7 separate regions of the Homo sapiens genome follow, and all the other regions are linked to region 3. Evidence: promoter capture Hi-C in 16 types of primary human blood cells and fetal thymus (Javierre and others, 2016). All regions are on one chromosome and are shown on one strand. The core of a region is centred on a gene start or on the middle of the fragment in contact, and the rest is flanking DNA. Distances in the headings are between cores, read along the strand shown.

Region 1 (2,700 bases), core at 169-2,668, 300 kb before region 3:
GAAAACTTAGCTTCCTCACTCCACCGTGACCTTATTTTCTTCCCTCTATTTCTCCCATATATATCACATTTTTAATTAAATCAGTAATTGATGTTTACATTGTTATGATTATACAGATATTATTCACTGCTGAGTCATATATTATTCTCACTGTCTTCTCCTTGTACATCCTTTGTTTCTCTTAAATATTTCTGAAATCTGGGCGTGTCTGCACGTCTCTTCCTAGCCTCCACTAGCTCACACAGCCAAATGCAGTAGTAACCCTTGGCTGGTCTCCTTGCTTTCATGTCTTTTTTTTTGTGTGTGTGGAATTAATTTCCTGACTATATTCATTTGGCTGTTTTCTAACAGCTATTTTTCCCCCCAAATGTTGTAGCATTTGCCACATGCCTATCAAAAATGTTTTCCATCTACTAAAACACATCTGTTCCATTTTTCTCTTGGAGACAGCTTTCCTCAGCCTTTTGTCATCCTCTTCAAATATAGACGGGTTTTTCCTAAGACTGTTCTGTGCCTGTTTTCCTGGGATATCTCTCTGAAGTCATCTGGGATCTCACATAACTGTCCTTTTGTGTTGGGTCCCCTAAATCCTAGATTCTGTGTTTCCCTCTATCTTGTTATCCTTCCTAGTTTTACCGGAGTACATTTTCCTGGGAAAGGGCCCATAGACAGACATATTTAGAGATCTAGCCTGTCTGAAAACCTCCCCTATTTCTTTCTCTCTCTCTCTTTTTTTTTTTTTTTTGAGACAAAGTCTTGCTCTTGTCCCCCAGGCTGGAGTGCAGTGGTGCGATCTCAGCTCACTGCAACCTCTGCCTCCCGGGTTCAAGCGATTCTCCTGTGTCAGCCTCCCAAGTAGCTGGTATTACAGGCGCCTGCCACCACGCCCAGCTAATTTTTGTATTTTTAATAGAGACGGGGTTTCACCATGTTGGCCAGGCTGGTCTCGAACTCCTGACCTCAGGTGATCTGCCCGCCTTGGCCTCCCAAAGTGGGGATTACAGGCATGAGCCACTGCACCTGGCCTTTTTTTTTTTTTTTCTTTTTTTCTCTTTTTTGAGACAGGGTCTCACTCTGTTGCCCAAGCTGGAGGGCAGTGGTGTGGTCTTGGCTTACTGCATCCTTAACCTACTGGGCTCAAGTGATCCTCCCATCTCAGCCTTCCGAGTAACTGGGACTACAGGCATGTGCCACTATGTCCAGCTAATTTTTGTATTTTTCATAGAGATGGGGTTTTGCCCTGTTGCTCAGGCTGGTCTCAAACTCCTGGCCTCAAGCCATCCACCTGCATCAGCCTTTCAAAGTGTTGGGGTTACAGGTGTGAGCCACTGCACCTAGCCAAAGCTTCCTATTTCATAAGAGTATAAAATGCTAGGTTCACTCTAAATTTCATAGTTCTGAAGACATTTCTCTATTATGTTCTCATTATAGTATTCTTGAATCTGTTGCCATTGTGTGATACAGTTCATGTAACCAGTTTTTACATGTCTCCGGAAGCTTTTTAGTGCCTTCTGTATCCCTGAGATCCTGAAATTGCTTAATATGGCTTGCTATGGACCTTTTCTTTTTTCCTTTTTTTTGAGACGGAGTCTTGCTCTGTTGCCAGGCTTGAGTGCAGTGGCGTGATCTCAGCTCACTGCAATCCCCACCTCCCAAGTTCAAGCAATTCTCCTGCCTTAGCCTCCCAAGTAGCTGGGACTACAGGGGCGTGCCACCAAGCCTGACTAATTTTTTTGTATTTTTAGTAAAGAAGGGATTTTACCATGTTGGCCAGGATGGTCTTGATCTCCTGACCTTGTGATCTGCCCGCCTCGGCGTCCCAAAGTGTTGGGATTACAGGCATGAGCCACCGCACCCGGCCTAGACCTTTTCTTTTTATTGGGACCAATAAGTCTGTAGACTATGTCTTCTAGAGAATTTTGTTTTCTTTGTTCCTTCTTTTTCCTGATATTCTTACTATTCAGATGCTGAGCTTATTAGACCAGTGTTTCTGCATTGATCTTTACTTGTCTCCGCCCCCCCCCGCCCCCACCCCACCCCCCCCACCCCCCCGCACTCTCCCATTTTCTAGTTAGTCTTTTGTTCTACTTCTTGGGCATTCTTTTACTTTATGCTCTAACCATTCTATTGAATCTTTCATCTTTTTGAAGGTATTTTAAGAATTTTTTTAAGTTTTCATTTGCTCCTGAATTTTCACCACTCCCATGCATTCCTTTTTCCTATTGTTTTGCTCTCTCTTGTTGGAGGCTTCCCTCACGTGTGATAGTCTCTGGCTTTCTCTAATTGGAAGCAGGACTTTTGTTAACTGATGATTCTTACTGCAAGGACATTGGAGGCCAAGCTAGCCTTTAATTTAGAAGACCTCAGTCTGTTATCTGGTGGGTCTTGTCTTGTCTTTTCTCTCTTCTTTTTTATCTCCTTTCCTTTCCTTTCCTCCTTCCTTTCCCCTTTCCTTTCTCCTGTCCTATCCTTTCCTTTGCTTTTCTTTCTGAGAGAGTCTCATTCTGTCATCCATACTGGAGTGCAGTGGCGTGATCTCAGCGCCCTCTGCCAAGATGCAACCTCTTCCTCCCGAGTTCAAGTGATTCTTGTGCCTCGGTCTCTTGAGTGGCTGAGATTACAGGTGTGTGCCACCACGCCTGGCTAATTTTTTTTTTTTTAGTAGAGACAGGGTTTTGCCGTATTAGCCAAGCTGGTCTC
Region 2 (2,729 bases), core at 157-2,656, 430 kb before region 3:
AAGTAACCAACTGAACGACAAAGCATGGTATTTGAATTTTAAATTAAAGCAAAGTAAATAAAAGTACAAAGCATATTTTAGTTAGTACTAAATTCTTAGTAAAATGCTGATCAGTAAACCAATCCCTTGAGTTATATAACAAGATTTTTAAATAAATGTTATTGTCCTCACCTTCAAAAATATTTATATTGTCACTCATTTACGTAAAAAGATATTTCTAATTTACTGTTGCCCATTGCACTTACATACCACCACCAAGAAAGCCTTCAAGATGTCAAATAAAGCAAAGTGATATATATTTGTTTATGAAATGTTACATGTAGAAAAATACTGATTTTAAATATTTTCCATATTAACAATTTAACAGAGAATCTCTAGTGAATTTTTTAAATGAAAGAAGTTGTAAGGATATAAAAAGTACAGTGTTAGATGTGCACAAGGAAAGTTATTTTCAGACATATTTGAATGACTGCTGTACTGCAATATTTGGATTGTCATTCTTACAAAACATTTTTTTGTTCTCTTGTAAAAAGAGTAGTTATTAGTTCTGCTTTAGCTTTCCAATATGCTGTATAGCCTTTGTCATTTTATAATTTTAATTCCTGATTAAAACAGTCTGTATTTGTGTATATCATACATTGTTTTCAATACCACTTTTAATTGTTACTCATTTTATTCACTAAGCTCGATAAATCTAACAGTTACTCTTAAAAAAAAAAAAAAAAGACTAAGGTGGATTTTAAAAATTGGAAACTGACATAATGTTAGGTTATAATTTCTCATTTGGAGCCGGGCGCAGTGGCTCACGCCTGTAATCCCAGCACTTTGGGAGGCCAAGGTGGGTGGATCACCTGTGGTCAAGAGTTCAAGACCAGCCTGGCCATCATGGTGAAACCCCATCTCTACTAAAAATACAAAAATTAGCCAGGCGTGGTGGCTGGCGCCTGTAATCCCAGCTACTCAGGAGGTTGAGGCAGCAGAATTGCTTGAACCCAGGAGGCAGAGGGTTGCAGTGAGCCGAGATAGCACCATTGCACTCCAGCCTGGGCGACTCCATCTCAAAAAATAAAAATAAAAAAAATGTCTCATTTGGGAAGGAAATTCCTTTTAAAAAAGAGTTGAGACACTTAGAAAACTAATGTTTTATATTTAGTCAAGAGTTATTTAAGAAAGTCAAGCTTGTTTAACAACAAAATATGAAGATTTAAGTGTTAATTGCTGGATCCATTTTAAAATAAGATTTTAATTAACATTTGTAAATGGTATATTTTCGTTTGTAACAAACCATTGTCTTTTTTCAAGGATGAACAGAGTTTATGAAGGAGCATCATTCTAAGAATTAAGTGATGTAGTCTTTATGTTTGGACAGTTCACCAGATTCTCAAGAAGGCTTTCAAACAACTATAAAGTTTGATGTTTGTCCTGCTGAGCTAATGGGGAAAGTTATAGCATAAAAATTGTGTAACCGCATAGATATGTCATTTTTAAAAACTGGTTTAACAGAAATCAAGCAAAGTCACAAATATGTTCACAAGTTGGAATTATTTATTGAGTCAAAATGTCGAATCGAACATTTTGAATGAAGTAAGTGTTATAAATGAAAAATTGCCTGATGTTTAGCAGTTTGTATTCTCTAAAGCTTTTTTTCAAAAGTTCAGGCTTTCTACTTACTGGGAAGTTGGTGGTCCTCTTAGTCCCTGATAAATCAAGGCAATCACATTCATGTGAGCTGGATGAATTTATAAGTTATAAAGACCTTATCCTTCATACCTTGAGGATGATTGCACTGGTTTTGAAGTCAGTTGCTTAATGATGAGGTGAGAAATGTATCCTGTTGCTAAATCTGTCTTAGACCCTTGGTGAAACTTGAAGATTTCAGTTTATAAAGATAAAATCAAGCATCTTTTGTGCAGTTTTCTTTTTTTAATGCAAGAATGGTGGGGAGGTTTGTTTGTAAGCATGAAACTTTGAGAATCTTTATTAAGAAAATGACATAATTTTTAAAAACCTTGTAGCCAAGAACATATGTGGCCACATTACCAGTAATAAATGTTTTTCTCTTTATATTGGCCAAAAGGGAATAAAAATGTCATCATAGGAATTTGTACATATGCTACTGATTTGCCTAGAAAATAGCAAGTTTGATATTGCTCACTTTGCAAATATAGGGCCATGTGGCACTTTTATCTATAGGACAGATTAATAAAAATGAAGTGGGGAGGGGTTTATTTTTGATATATTACTCTTATGAGTTTTCAAGCTTTGATAATGTTTAACTGAAAAGTGGCTTAGAAAGGGCTAGATCCAATGTGTTCATTATTAAATAATTGCTATCAGATACAATTTTAAGTTCATTCTTTTTCAAACTCAAGTACCATATTGGCAACCATAATATTGTCATAGGTGCTCTCTTCATTTAGATATTCTTGGGGGGGGTGGCATTTGTATAATATATGTGTACATATATATATATATATATATATATACATACAGTATATAATCTAAAGCTCTGAGAGCTCTTAAGTCAGGAATGCTGAGTATTATAGTATATTGAGGTCAGATGAAATTTTACATTTTTGTGTGTTCTGTTGCATTCCTTCTGGTAGTTTCTATGACTGCATTACTCCAGCACTCATGATTGATTTTATCTTCTAATTTTCTTCCAAGTATTTTATTTTTTATTAGTTTTCTTTGGCTTGATACTTTTAAATATGTTACTAGTCACTTGA
Region 3 (2,700 bases), core at 162-2,661:
CCGAATGACAGAGTAAGACCCTGTCTCAAAATAAAATAAAATAAAATAAAATAAAATAAAATAAAATAACAATAATAAAAACCCTAATGAGGTCAATACTATTATTATTCCCATTCTACAGATTAGGAAACAGAAGCGCTAAGTAAACTGCCCAAGATTACACAACTAGGAAGTGACCAAGCAGGAATTCAAACTGAAGTAGTCTGGCTTTATAGTTTTTGCTATAAACCATGACATTGTAAAAATATTCATTGTAAAGAAAAACTCATCAGGAATTAGTATCATTTCTTCTATGTATATCTATCTATTGTAGGTGCAATTTAACCTAATATTCATCTCCTGTCTAAAAGACTATGTGACCAAGGTTACAAATGTCTACTGATATTTTTAGAGACTAGATATATAGCCCAGCTTTTGTTAAGGCATTTTCTTGAAGTCAGTCAGTCAAAAACTGCCTTGTATTTTAAGTATGCCAATTATAATTTACATGTAGTATTTTATAATAAAATACTTTATAAATACAAATCACAACTCACTACGATTACTTAAAATATAGAGAAAAAAATTCAGCTGTTTCTCTCTGGTCCCTTCCAAGGAAGAAAAAAGAAGAGAGAAATAAACTTCTAAATAAGTTTACAACAGCATGGCTCAATCTCAGTTTAACCTGGTAAATTCAAATTTGTCTTGCTTTGCAAGGTATACATCCAGACCAGTCTCAATTTGTCATCCAAATATATATCTCAGTAGTAATTTATTTTTGTTTAAGGGATGAGTGTGAGATTTTCTTATCTTGATTTTTTAGCTTAATAATTCTTTCCTACAAGACCAAACCATGCTTGTCATCAGTCATGTGGTGTCATTTACTATACATTAAAAACGGACAGAGTCGACAGAAAGAACAATCGTTTTCTGGAAGCCCCAGCCTGATGTAGGTTAAAAGCTCTGCTGGGGTTTGGTTTTATAATCCCCAGGCGGGGATGGCAGGGATACTAATAACGCACTCAACAAGATCACCTACTATTTCAACTACTTTCTCCTCCTATTACATACCTGATTCACAAAAATAAGCAGACAATGCATCATGTAATCTCCCCTCACCCATTAGCCATTGCAGTGTGGTACAATCTCCAGCACGTAATAAAAACCTGAGCATGCAAGAAACAGCAAAATCACTGCTATCCCTGGGAGCTGCTCGGATATTTACAATGCAGTCGTCCCCACCCCATCCCCCAAACTGGCCGGCCAGGCAGCACAGAAGCAGACGGATGCTCACCTGGGCCCCGGCTGCTACTCTCCATTCACCTGCGGGGCCTTCAGTCCGCTCCTGGAGGGGCTTGACTCCCGCAGCCTGCCGCCCGCCTCACGGTGACAGCCCGCCCGGGCGCTGACCATCCCGGCCCGGCTCTGTTTACAAGCGGCTTCTCGCGGTCCCACTCTGAAATGCTTCCGCCGGCGGCCCGGGCAGCCAGAGCCGGACACACAAGGTTCCAGGCCGCGAGGACGAGTCTTTCCTGCCCGAGGGACCCGGCAGCTAGGCAAGGCCTGACCGCACCCGCCAGGCCTCCTTATTTCTTTGCTTTCTTATATACAGTTCCTCTTGTACACATTGTGAAAGCAATGGCGTGTGTCGTGGAGTCTCCTCACTGCTCCACCCAACGCCAAAATGGGTGTTTGCGATTGGAAAATGTCACTTAGAACATGTCAGGATCGGGCTGGTTTTTAGCAGCTCCCTTGTCTAAGGGAATTAATTACTCAAATAAGTTCTTTCCAAAAGTGGGACTATTCTGGAGATTGCTTCTCATTTCCGGTTTTGGGGCTGCAGTGAAAATCCGTTTTCACTGTCCTTTCCTACGCAGGTTGAAAAGGGGTGGTTTTGAGGTGAGGTCTTCACCCCCACTTGCGGATTCCCAGCAAAATAGGGTGTGCGTGTGTGTGCACGCGGGCAGGACTGCCTGGTAAGACCGCCCACATCCCACCTGCAGTGACTGTGGTCGCTTTGCAGGGATATGCTGGTCTGATTGGACAGACCTTCCTTGCAGTTTCCTGTCTGTTTTCCATCATAGCACACTTCTTAGCCATTTTCTCACTTTATAAGTACACACTTATTTATCAGTTTTATTGGTTTTCCCACGCTCACCCATCTCACCTATAAACTCCCTGAGGGCAGGCACTATTTCAGTTTCACTCACCACCATCTAGTAGGCACCTAGCACAGGCCCAATGTATATATATCTGAATAAATGAATGAACAAAGGAATGATAAAAAAAAAAAAAGGTCAAAGGGGTCAGGGATGAAACAGAAATCTAAAACTCTGATTCCTCTTCCCACCTTCCCACCCTCCAGAAGATTAATAAGCAAATCTTTAAGCTTTGAGTTAAGAAAAAATTTCCTTTGGTTGATATTCAAAGTTTAAATAAGCTTTCTTTAAACCCTGCAATTTGAGGTACTTTTTTTTCTGTTTTGCTAGAGACAGGATCTCACTCTGTGCCCCGGCCAGAGTGCAGTCGCACGATCATAGCTCACTGCAGCCCTGAACTCCTGGGTTCAAGGGATCCCCCCAACTCAGCCTCCTGAGTAGCTAGGACTACAGGCACGCATCACCACAACGTGGCTAACTTCTTTTTTCTTTCTTTCTCTTTTTTTTTTTTTTGTAAAGGCAAGGTCTCCCTGTGTTGCCCAGGATGATCCTGAACTCCTGG
Region 4 (2,700 bases), core at 137-2,636, 310 kb before region 3:
TTAAGTTACTTCCGCAAGCTTACATGACTGCTCAGGGTGAGGGTCCCTGATCATGATGATCAGAAAATAAAGGTAGAAATCAAGCTTAGGGAGGAAGTGACATTGTGTGTATATATATATATTTGTTTATTTATTTTTATTTTTATGTTTTATTTTTTTGAAACGGAGCCTAGGTCGCCCAGGCTGGAGTGCAATGGCGCGATCTCGGCTTACGGCAACCTCTGCCTCCCGGGTTCAAGTGATTCTCCTGCCTCAGCCTCCCGAGTAGCTGGGAATACGGGCGCGTGCCACCATGCCCGGCTAATTTTTTGTATTTTTAGTAGAGACGGGATTTCACCGTGTTAGCCAGGATGGTCTGGATCTCCTGACCTGGTGATCCGCCCGCCTCGGCCTCCCAAAGTGTTGGGATTACAGGCATGAGCCACCGCGCCCGGCCGGGATTGTTTTTAAGGGTTAAATAAATATACCACAGTTGGAACACTGTCTGGCACATAGTGCTTGCCAAATGGTAACTATTCATCTTCATGGAATCAAGACTGTGGTGCCCCACTGCATGGTTCTCAGTTTTGCGTGAGAAAATCGTGCTTTCTGTGCTGTTTTTAGTACAAGAAGAGAAACCTGGAAGTCCCTGCCTAGAGGAGAGAAACAGGCAAGAAAAGGGAGTTGGCGAGTCCCAGCATTTCAGAGTTGGCAGGGACGAGTTAGGTCCCTATTTTATGGATGAGGAAGTGGAAGGGTGACGTGTCCTCGAGTCTCATTCAAGACCCACAGCCACAACTCTTTATGGAGAGTAGGACCAGGGCCCCAGGGTTGCTATGATCACGTTGCAGGTGAAAACTAACGCTCATTGGAAGACAGGAGCGGAGCACTGAGTTACAAAAACAGTTAACAATTTGGGTGTAACCAAGTTTAGTGAGCAAACGAAAGCTGTCAGACTCGGAAGAAGAGTTGCTAATGGAGCGAACTCTTTACTAATAACGGCTTTCTACAGAGATCATTGACACAGCTTCCAGTTACAAATGCCCGTGCGCTTCCAGTAGGACCGGAAAGCTCCCAGCAGCCAGCGATGAATGAAAACCCGAGTCTGGGATAGCGGCGTGAGGGGCTGGGCAGCTGCCAGGCGGGGGCGGGGCAGCAGGTCACGTGCCTGGCTTCGAGGCGGGCGCCGGAGGGGGAACTCTGACCATGATTGGTTCCTCCTAACCAGGTGACCGCAGGTCGCGTTCCGGTTGGCAGGCACCGGCCAGGGCCAGCGGCCTTCAGTCGGTAGGCGGCGGCGGAAGGAGGAGGAGCTCCAGCCGCGCTCTCTCCCGGCAGTGGCTGTGCTTCACAGCGCTTGTTGGGTTCCCCACCCCTTTTAAATAAGCCGGGCTGGTCACCGCCCTCGCAGACGAGTCAGCTTAAGGGAGGCGGCGGCAGCGCGGCGGTGGGGGTGCGGCCGAGGCCCGAGCCCTGCCCGGGGCCGGGCCGCGGGGCGGGCGGGCGAACCGCGGGCGAGGCGGCGTCTGCTTGCGCGGTGCAGCCCCAGCGTAGCCCGGGGCTGCCGGTGCCGGCCGCGCCATTGTTGGGGGAGGGGGCGGCTGTTGAGGGCGGCGGAGTAGGGGGCGAGCGAAGGCGGTGGCAGAGAGGAGCGGAGGCTTCCCATGGGGAACACGCTGACCTGTTGCGTGTCCCCCAATGCCAGCCCCAAGCTGGGCCGGCGCGCGGGGTCGGCGGAGCTGTACTGCGCGTCCGACATCTACGAGGCGGTGTCCGGGGACGCGGTGGCGGTAGCGCCCGCTGTGGTGGAGCCTGCCGAGTTGGATTTCGGAGAGGGCGAGGGCCACCACCTGCAGCACATCAGCGACCGCGAGATGCCCGAAGGTAAGGAGGCGGCGGATGCCATCCGCCCTCGGGCTCACCTCTGCCCGCCTCCTCCCCCAGAGTCCCCCGGGAGGCATCCGCCGCCTCGGGCTCCTTCCTGCCGGTAGCCGGCCCCGGGACGAAGGCTGGTTCTGCCTCGCGTCCCCACCCCTTATTCTTGCCCTGCTGCGTCTGGCCAGTTTCTTTTCCTCCTCCTTACCGTAACGCCCAGTTCTTGCTCCCGCTTCCCATTCTCCCAAGCCGGCGTGGGACCCTCTAGTCCGCCGCCCTTCTTGTTTGTAGCTCTGTTCATTGTCTGGTGGGACTTTGCTAAGACTTTTGGGGTATATTGTTTTCCTTTTCTCAATGGAAACTCAAATACCTCAACTTCGGAGTACTCATCCCATTCCCTCCCTTAACCCATCCAGATGGTACCTAAGTGAAGGAACCAGGTAAGGGTCTGATTGTTCCTTCCTCCCATCCGTGAAGATAGCTGATGCCCGCGACAGTTTAGACCCAGATGTTTGAGGATTTCTTATCTAGACTCAAAATAGAGGTTGCCATAGGAGACACTATATGGTATTCCTAATAGGTTAAGTCGGCGTGAAAGAAGCTGCTTTATTCCTTCCAACTATAATTTGAACACAGAAAGAAAGAAAATGGGGGGAGGGGCGTAAAATGACTGTGAAGGGTGTGAGAGGTTATTACCAGGGGTGCAGACAAGTTGTTTTTTTGAGACGGAATCTCGTTTTGTCGCCCGCCCAGGCTGGAGTGCAGTGGCGCGATCTCGGCTCGCTGCAACCTCCGCCTCTCGGTTTCAAGCGATTCCTCTGCCTCAGCCTCCCGAGTAGCTGGGAT
Region 5 (2,700 bases), core at 107-2,606, 390 kb before region 3:
GTCATGTTAACCACTGACATTTGGAATTTATTCACTATTGTAGCATATAGCCTATCTCCATTAATACACAAGGGCAGGCCATTTGAGCTGGGGAAAGGAGAGGGCTCTGAAGAGGTGACATTTAAATGGAAATTTAAAAGAGTAGAAGAAAACAGCCACTTGAAGAGCCAAGGGAATGGCATTTCAAGCAAGGGAACAGAAACTGCAAAAGCCCCCAGGCAGAAGAAACTGTCAACTGACCAGCCAGGAGCAAGGGGTAAGTGGCACAAGATAACTCTTAAGATTAAGTCAAACAGAAGAATGAAAGCTTTGAACTACCCAAACTCCACTAACAACTTACACCCTGCAGGAGAGGTATTTTTGCATCATCACTACACAACTCTCTGTGTGAGTCACAGACCCTGGGTGCCCTCAAGGGTGAGGCTGGCTGCCCTGAAGACACTACCATACAGCTAAGGAGTTGGCTTAAGGATATTCAAAAAGCCTTAAGGAATAAAGCTCCAGCTGGTGCTAAAGAAAGACAACCATAGACAGAGTCTTGGTATAACTGTGTTCACCACTGTCTTTTTTAAGTTCTTGTCTAGCTTCTCAGTATTTCCGTAAGACCTGACTGCAGAGAGAAAAAACAAGACAACTGCTCAGCGCTACCTTGAGGGAATATGCAGCATAAATAGCTACATTTGGATTTTTCATTTTGCTGATGAAATCGCATTTTTGATCACAGCTCCTGGACAACTGCAGCCATGCCTGATGCTCTTGTTCTACAACAAAATAGAAGCAGCAGCTAGGGGAGAAGTTTCCAGACTTGTGTTCTGTTGGGTTTTAGAGTCACATCTGTGGCTTTCAGCTGGAAACGGCTGGACAACTATTTGTTGAATGAATGAATGAATGAATGAATGAATGAATGTTACAATACATCACATCAAATTATTGCCCACCTCACTCCAAAAGTGTTTAAATGCGAATTCAACTTATTAGATACCTTTGAGTTAATGATGCTGAAGAATTTGTAGTTACTTTCATTATTTGTGTTTCATTAACCTAGGGTTCAATAATATTCCCAGGTATAGTACATGTTTGGGTAAGAAGCTATTGACTGTCTTATCTTTTGATGATTCCAAGAAAAGGTATGAAGCCATTTGCCTTTTCATAATTTATAGGTTAATTTGTGTGTAATTAGAAAAGCAGGTACATTTTAAGTAAGTCAAACCAAAAGACAACATCAAGAAGAGAATAGTAAATAGTCAAGTGAAAGTGCTAGCTTGTAATTCCAAGAGCTCATGTATTTGAGCAGTGCCTCTTCCCAGGTGACACAGGGCATTTTGAGTTCAGGTTTTCCTGGTGGTATGTACAGGAGTGGGAGCGGAGTTACATGCTAATGTGACCAGAGAGGATGCAGTGCTGAGGATCCAGGGCAGGATGGAGGCAGTGTCCCCGACTGGCAGCCTCCAAAAAGCCTTGACCTACAGATGTGTTTTGTGTGTCCCATGCAGACTTGGCTCTCATGGTGTTTTGTTTTTTAGTTTAGTGTCAATATTTGAAAGTAAGGAGATGTATCTTAGTCCATTTTGTGCTGCTATAGAAGAATTACCGGCTGGGCGAGGTGGCTCACGCCTGTAATCCCAACACTTTGGGAGGCCAAGGCGGGCAGATCACGAGGTCAAGAGTTTGAGACCAGCCTGACCAACATAGTGAAACCCTGTCTCTACTAAAAATACAAAAATTAGCTGGGCATAGTGGCGTGCACCTGTAATCCCAGCTACTTCGGAGGCTGGGGCAGGAGAATCACTTGAACTCAGGAGGTGGAGGTTGCAGTGAGCCAAGATCGCACCACTGTATTCCAGCCTGGGTGACAGGGCGAGACTCCATCTCAAAAAAAAAAAAAGAATTATCTAAGACTGAGTAATTTATAATGAGCAGAAATTTATTGACTTCTGGTTCTGGAGGCTAGAACGTCCAAGATCAAGGGGCTGGCATCTGGGGAGAACCTTCTTGCTGTGCTATCCCATGAAGGAAACACAAAGAAGGAGTGAGAGAGAGCAAGAGTTCAAACTTGCACCCTCAAGCCCTTTTATAATCATTATTAATCCATTCATGAGGGTGGAGCCTTATGACCTAAATACCTCCATTAGGCCCCACCTCCCAACACTGATTAAGTTTCCAATGCATGCCTTTTGGGGGAACACATTCAAACCATAGCAAGATGTCAGATAAAAATCAAGATAGTAAAATTAAGATAATTATTTGAAATGGCTTTCTTTGAAAATTTTGAAATATCTGGCAAACATGGGTCCAAATGCCCACAAGATGGCAATGAGCTAGAGCCAAGCTGGCTCTTCCTTTGGACATTATGGTCTCCCCTCAGTGTGCCGCGGTCCCCTCCCCTGCTTGTTGTCTTGTCCCCACAAGCTTCATTCATTTACTTACGATACTGTCAGGGTCTGTGACGGAGCACCAGTAAACAGCCTCTCACTTTATTTTCTCTGGGTTCTAAACAAGCTGAGAAATAAAACAACGACTAAAGCTGAAGGCAAAAACATCCCCTCTATTTACTGAGACAGAAGAAGTTGGAGGGCGAGGCTTATATCTGCAGGCAGATGGACCTACGAAGAACGAAGAACGCTAAGGTGACTCATCCAGCACTGGATGGGGCAGGCCTCGCATGTAATTCCTATAGCATGAAGGAGCAGAGGAGAGTGC
Region 6 (2,700 bases), core at 6-2,505, 500 kb before region 3:
GGCAGAATTACCGTGATGGAGTCATAGTTATTTTGCTTTCTTTTCAAGGTAAAGTTCTTCTCCCCTTTTCATTCTGTAAGCAGGCAGTGGAACACAATGGTTAAGAGTTCAGGCTCTAAAGCCTGTCAGAATGTGCCTGGGTTCACATTCTGACTCTGACACTCACTGGCTCTAAGACCACAGACACGTTTCTTCTCTGGTTTCAGTTTACTCATCTGTAAAATGTTCCTAATATTAATATTTCCCTCACTGGGTTGTTGTGAGGATTAAATTAGGTAATATATCAAAAGGTGTTTAGAACAGTGCCAGCACAAAGCAAGCACTCAATACATCTTTTTTTTTTTTTTTTTCCTGAGACAGAGTCTCACTCTGTCGCCCAGGCTGGAGTGCAAGTGGTACGATCTCGGCTCAGTGCAACCTTCGCCTCCCGGGTGAAGTGATCCTCCTGCCTCAGCCTTCCAAGTAGCTGCGGACTGCAAGCACGTGCCACCACGCCCAGCTAATTTTTGTATTTTCAGTAGAGACGGGGTTTCACCATGTTGGCCAGGCTGGTCTCGAACTCTTGACCTCATGATCTGGCCGCCTCAGCCTCCCAAAGTGCTGAGATTACAGGCTTGAGCCACCATACCCAGCCAATAAATCTTTGCTTGTTACTGTTCCTGGTTTTAGTGCCAGCCACTGGACTTTTTGCAATTTCTAAGATAATAAGAGACCACCTGACATGTTTACATGGTATTGCTTTCAGTTGCAGAGAAGATGGAGCATGCAGCAGCACTAGTATCCTACCATTTGGCCCTTGAAATGCTAATTACAAGCTACCAGAATCTTGCTGATCAGTTCTCCAGTTCCGACTCTGTGACATGGGAAGACCAGAAAGCTTCAAAGAGGTCTTCGTCTCTTTAAGGTTATAAGGAACCCAGACAGAAATGGCAGAGTGTAGCCACATAGAAATTGGGCACCACAAGAAGCTGTTAGCTTGGTGGAGCCACCATGATTCAGGCTGTAATACAGAAGCTCAATATTTATAGATGCACCTACAGGTGATCAGTCTAAGAAAGACCTGCTTATGCTAATCCAGGAGATTACATCCAAAATTTCAATTGCATTCATTCAACAAATATTTGAGTCCCAGCTGTGTACCAGGTACTCTTCTAGATGTTAAGGATACAGCAGCGAAAAAAAAAGGGACAAAAGTCCCTGCCCTAGAGGGGGCAGACAATAAACACAATAAATAAGTTAATATATAGCACAGAGAAAGTGATATGTGCAATGGAGAAAAATAAGTAGTAAAGGAAAATAGGGAGAGCAAAAGAGCAAAGAGGTGGTTGTTCGGTGATCAATTTCCACCAGAGTAGTAAGGAAAGGCCTCACAGAAACAGGAGCATTTGAGCAAAGACATGAGGAGTCAAGGAAGACATGGATATCTGGGAGAAGCATTCAGAGCAGAGGAAATAGCAAGGGCAAAGTCTCTTGGGAGAAAGTGTGTTCAAAGTGTTTGAGAAACAGCAAGGAGGCCGCCAATGTGACTGAACAGAGAATGGAGGGGAATAACAGAAGGAACTAAGACCAGAGAGGTAAGGGGGTGTACAGGGACTAATTGTAAAAATAAGTGCTTTTACTCTGAGTGAGATAGGAAGCTTTTAGAAAGTTTTGAACAGTCTTAATATGGTCTGCTCTATATTTTAAAGGTATCACTCTGGCTGCTGTGTTGAGAATAGAATGAATGTTAAGGGTAGCTAATACAAAATTCTAGTCAATGATGACAGTAGTTTGGACCAAGCTGCTATCAGTGGAGTTGGGGAGAGTGGTCATATATTTTGAAGAGAGAGCAATAGGCTTTGATGACAAACTGAATGTGGGATATAAAAGAGTTGCTGAGTTGGCCTCAGCAATCAAATGATGGAGTTGCCAATAACTGAGATAAAGAAGGTTGTAGGTAGAGAAAGTTTTTGAGGGGAAGGGGTATGCTGAGTTTTGTTTTGGATATGATCAAATGAAGAGGTCTATTAAATATACAAGTAAAGATGCTGAGGTACTTGGAATACAAGTTTGGGTTTAAGACTTGGGAGTTGTGAGCATATTTACATGTAAAGACAGAAGACTGAATGAGAGCACTATAGGAAAGGGGGTAGGAACAGAAGAAAAAAATTCCAAGGCAGAGGCCTGGGACACTCCAATATTAAGAGGTCATGAGCAGGAGTTTGAGAACAGTGACTAGTAGTGTAGGACTAAAACCAGGAGACTGAAGTATCCTATAAACTAAGTGGAGAAAGTGTTAAAGGGAGGAGGGAGTAATCAACTATGGCAAATGCTGATAGGTCAAGGATAGAGACAAAGAACTGGCTATTGGATTAACTAACAAAATAACAAAGTAATTGGAGAGTAATTTCAGTGGAATGCTGGGGGCAAGAGGTAGTTAAAATAGTTTTAATAGAAAACAGGAGAAAAGGAATTGGGGCAGTGAATATAGAACTCTTTCAAGGATTTTATAGTAAAGGAGAACAAAAACAAATGGGACAGTAGCTGGAAGGGGAAGTAAAAGCCAAAATTTTTTTTGTTTTGTTTTTCTGGTTTTTAAAATCAGTTTTAAGATACAATACATTAATTTGCATGGGGGAAATGTAACTGGTAAACAGACCAGAAATAGTTGTGAAGAGATTAGTGCTTTCTTTTCTATCTGGAAAGTCAAATTAAAATCAC
Region 7 (2,745 bases), core at 83-2,582, 450 kb before region 3:
CCAGCACGCTGGGAGGCCAAGGTGGTGGATCATGAGGTCAGGAGTTCAAGACCAGCCTGCCCAACATGGTGAAACCCTGCCTCCACTAAAAATACAAAAATTAGCCGGGCATAGTGGCGGACGCCTGTAATCCCAGCTACTCGGGAGGCTGAGACAGGAGAATTGCTTGAACCCAGGAGGCGGAGCTGGCAGTGAGCTGAGATCACACCACTGCACTCCAGCCTGGGTGGCAGAGCAAGATTCCGTCTCAAAAAAAAAAAAAAAAAAGAGAGATTAATACTTTGAAATTTTTAAAGCTTTGTTCATTATTTTTATCCTGTGTCCTCTCTGTATATGTACACATGGCTTTGGCTTTGATGGAACTGATTTAACATTATATTCTTGATTTTCATTAAGAGCAATATAATAAATACATATACAGCAACATTTATATTTCTTAACTTATAAAATGAACATATGGTTGTCAGAATTCACCATAGATATATAAACACACATAGTTATATATTTTGTTTAATAGCTGCATTGTGTTTCACTGTGTAAATACAGCACTTATTTAAACATTCTCCTGCTGATGAACATTTAGGACATTTCTATTGTTTCAAACAGTGCTACATAAATATCCTAAGAGTGGAATTATCGACCATCCTGGCTAACACGGTGAAAACCCGTCTCTACTAAAAATACAAAAAATTAGCCGAGCGAGGTGGCGGGCACCTGTAGTCCCAGCTACTCGGGAGGCTGAGGCAGGAGAATGGTGTGAACCCAGAGGGCGGAGCCTGCAGTGAGCCGAGATAGCGCCACTGCATTCCAGCCTGGGCAACAGCGAGACTCCATCTCAAAAAAAAAAAAAAGAGTGGAATTATCAAATTAAAGCATATCCTCCGCAAGTACCCTTCCAGGTGGAGGCATGAATTTCCACTCCTTCCTTAAATTGGTTATTTTATTAAATTCATGCTGTTACTAGATTTATCTGTTACTTATTAGTTCAGTGTCCCAGATAGTAAAATCTTATTAGTGATTCTGCTCTTAGATAGAAAATGTGTATCTGTCATTTTGAACTTGAATTTTTTTGTTTCAGTAAATAAAACTATGACTCATGATGTTTCCCTCTTTATTCTGGCAACTCAGATTCTTAGCTAACTTTCTGTTTAATTGTATTCTTTTCTTAGTCTAGATTTTCTTCTACAATTGTTTTATATAACTAAGGATACATCCGTTACTTGACTTCTGTCTTTTTATTTTTGTTTTAATGAATTGTGTTTTATTGAAAGCTATCTCAAATCTTTTTGGAATAATAAAGTGTATACATAAACATTATAGAGAAAAACTGTGTTCAGTAGGATTAGACTTCAGTTTCCAAAGTATTTTCATATACATGACCTCATTTGATATTTACAACAATTGTACTTAGTGGCTAGAACCCAGATGCTTTTGTTTTTAGAGAAGAGAGAACAGAATCAAATAACAGTTTAGTGATGGCTGGGCACAGTGGCTCACGTCTGTGATCCCAACACTTGGGGAGGCCAAAGTGGGAGGACTGCTTGAGGCCAGGAGTTCAAGATCAGCCTGGGCAACATAGCAAAACCCTGTCTCTACAAAAAAATGTCTTTAGAAAATTAGTAGGGCCTGATGTCCTGTGCTAGCTACTTGGGAGGCTGAGGCAGGAGGATCACTTGAGCCCACCAGTTGGAGGCTACAGTGAGCTGTGATCTTGCCACTGCACTCCAGCCTGGAAGACAGAACAAGACCCTGTCTCAAAAGAAAAAAATTAAAACAAAAAACTGTTCAGTGATGGAACTCAAACTACAACCCAGTCTTGTCATATATGGTTTACTATTTCTTTCTTCTTCCCACCTTGAATTCACTGCTCTGTAGCCAAGAAGAAAGTGGTATGTTAAATACAGTAGGATTCACTCATTAACTCTAAATGAGAAATTGTGATTTGTTTCTGTTAACCTTCTGATTCTTTCAAGTAATCATGCAAAATTAATCTTAGAATAGTTCTTACTCATTTTTCTCCCTGCCTAAGATAAGTAAAACTTCTGGGATTAGCTAAACTAGATCCAGTGTATATGCCAGCATTTTAATTTTCACAAGTGTCATTTTGCTAAACTAATCACACTGTAGCCATTAACTCTTCTTACTTCTTGATGAGGCAGTAATCAATTTTCCATGTACAGATGTCTCAGGATGTTATTTCCCATAGCTGGTGGATAACTGATCCCAAACTAATTCCCTTCTAATGGACAGTAACATGCTTAATCAGACATGTTGACTTTCCTGCATTGTTTACTTTTTTCTTACTCAGTTAAAATCAGTTTTGTAGTTTTATATGTGATATTGTGATTTTTGGTCCTTCTCTTTCTGAAAAGCTTGACCCCTACAGGGAGAATTGTCTAGAGAGGATATTGCCACCTATCTAAAAATGCTTCTTCCAAATAAATCATCTAATTTTTAAATTAAATTTTTCTATGTACTGTAGCATAAAGGTGATTTAGTTTTTCATAAAGTGAAATATCTACTAGTATGAGCAAAAGTTGACTGATTTATTGTTTAACAAATGAATGACAGGTGTGGCTAATTAGGGCATAAACAACAAAGGGTTCTATATGAGAATGCTTGGATATGTATTAAATAATTTAGAAATGACAGTTAAAGTTTTTTTTCTAAATGATGATCTTGAGCTCTGATTTTAAAATTCCATGAGAGACTGTTGATAATTAAGTTCCATAGGATATTTCAGTT

The links. Contacts are between HindIII fragments. The CHiCAGO score rates a contact against its expected background, and 5 or more counts as called.
Region 1: a fragment that was not itself captured here is called in contact with the fragment with the promoter of PLEKHM3 in region 3 in 3 of 17 cell types (total CD8 T cells, M1 macrophages and non-activated CD4 T cells); the score reaches 6.3 in total CD8 T cells.
Region 2: a contact is called between a fragment that was not itself captured here and the fragment with the promoter of PLEKHM3 in region 3, in 1 of 17 cell types (total CD8 T cells). The highest score is 6.2, in total CD8 T cells.
Region 4: a contact is called between the fragment with the promoter of CCNYL1 here and the fragment with the promoter of PLEKHM3 in region 3, in 14 of 17 cell types (total CD8 T cells, fetal thymus, non-activated CD4 T cells and 11 more). The highest score is 15.0, in total CD8 T cells.
Region 5: a contact is called between a fragment that was not itself captured here and the fragment with the promoter of PLEKHM3 in region 3, in 2 of 17 cell types (total CD8 T cells and monocytes). The highest score is 8.8, in total CD8 T cells.
Region 6: a fragment that was not itself captured here is called in contact with the fragment with the promoter of PLEKHM3 in region 3 in 2 of 17 cell types (total CD8 T cells and naive CD8 T cells); the score reaches 6.3 in total CD8 T cells.
Region 7: a contact is called between a fragment that was not itself captured here and the fragment with the promoter of PLEKHM3 in region 3, in 1 of 17 cell types (total CD8 T cells). The highest score is 5.8, in total CD8 T cells.

Annotation. Positions count from the first base shown.
Region 1 is chr2:207,727,236-207,729,935 of GRCh38, forward strand. The region is part of intron 3 of CCNYL1 (cyclin Y like 1); the gene reads left to right. Among named protein-coding and RNA genes, the nearest start is that of CCNYL1, 17 kb to the left of the region's middle. The HindIII fragment of the contact is 153 bases long and covers 1,343-1,495 here.
Region 2 is chr2:207,597,778-207,600,506 of GRCh38, forward strand. It overlaps CREB1 (cAMP responsive element binding protein 1), which reads left to right. Exons shown (of 8, transcript NM_004379.5): 8 at 1-2,729. It also overlaps a transcript of METTL21A not described here. Among named protein-coding and RNA genes, the nearest start is that of METTL21A, 26 kb to the right of the region's middle. The HindIII fragment of the contact is 461 bases long and covers 1,177-1,637 here.
Region 3 is chr2:208,024,116-208,026,815 of GRCh38, forward strand. It overlaps PLEKHM3 (pleckstrin homology domain containing M3), which reads right to left and starts at 1,412. Exons shown (of 8, transcript NM_001080475.3): 1 at 1,274-1,412. The HindIII fragment of the contact is 3,995 bases long and covers 1-2,366 here.
Region 4 is chr2:207,710,254-207,712,953 of GRCh38, forward strand. It overlaps CCNYL1 (cyclin Y like 1), which reads left to right and starts at 1,387. Exons shown (of 10, transcript NM_001330218.2): 1 at 1,387-1,863. The coding sequence starts at 1,644. RefSeq lists enhancers at 579-778, 789-838, 1,191-2,187 and silencers at 1,059-1,508, 1,929-2,038, 2,051-2,210. The HindIII fragment of the contact is 3,390 bases long and covers 83-2,700 here.
Region 5 is chr2:207,632,984-207,635,683 of GRCh38, forward strand. No RefSeq gene overlaps it. Among named protein-coding and RNA genes, the nearest start is that of METTL21A, 8.9 kb to the left of the region's middle. The HindIII fragment of the contact is 2,102 bases long and covers 306-2,407 here.
Region 6 is chr2:207,521,616-207,524,315 of GRCh38, forward strand. It overlaps LOC124907970 (a long non-coding RNA gene), which reads right to left. Exons shown (of 3, transcript XR_007088060.1): 3 at 1-2,700. Among named protein-coding and RNA genes, the nearest start is that of CREB1, 7.0 kb to the right of the region's middle. RefSeq lists a silencer at 1,536-1,615. The HindIII fragment of the contact is 760 bases long and covers 876-1,635 here.
Region 7 is chr2:207,571,977-207,574,721 of GRCh38, forward strand. All of the region lies in intron 5 of CREB1 (cAMP responsive element binding protein 1), which reads left to right. Among named protein-coding and RNA genes, the nearest start is that of CREB1, 43 kb to the left of the region's middle. The HindIII fragment of the contact is 2,076 bases long and covers 295-2,370 here.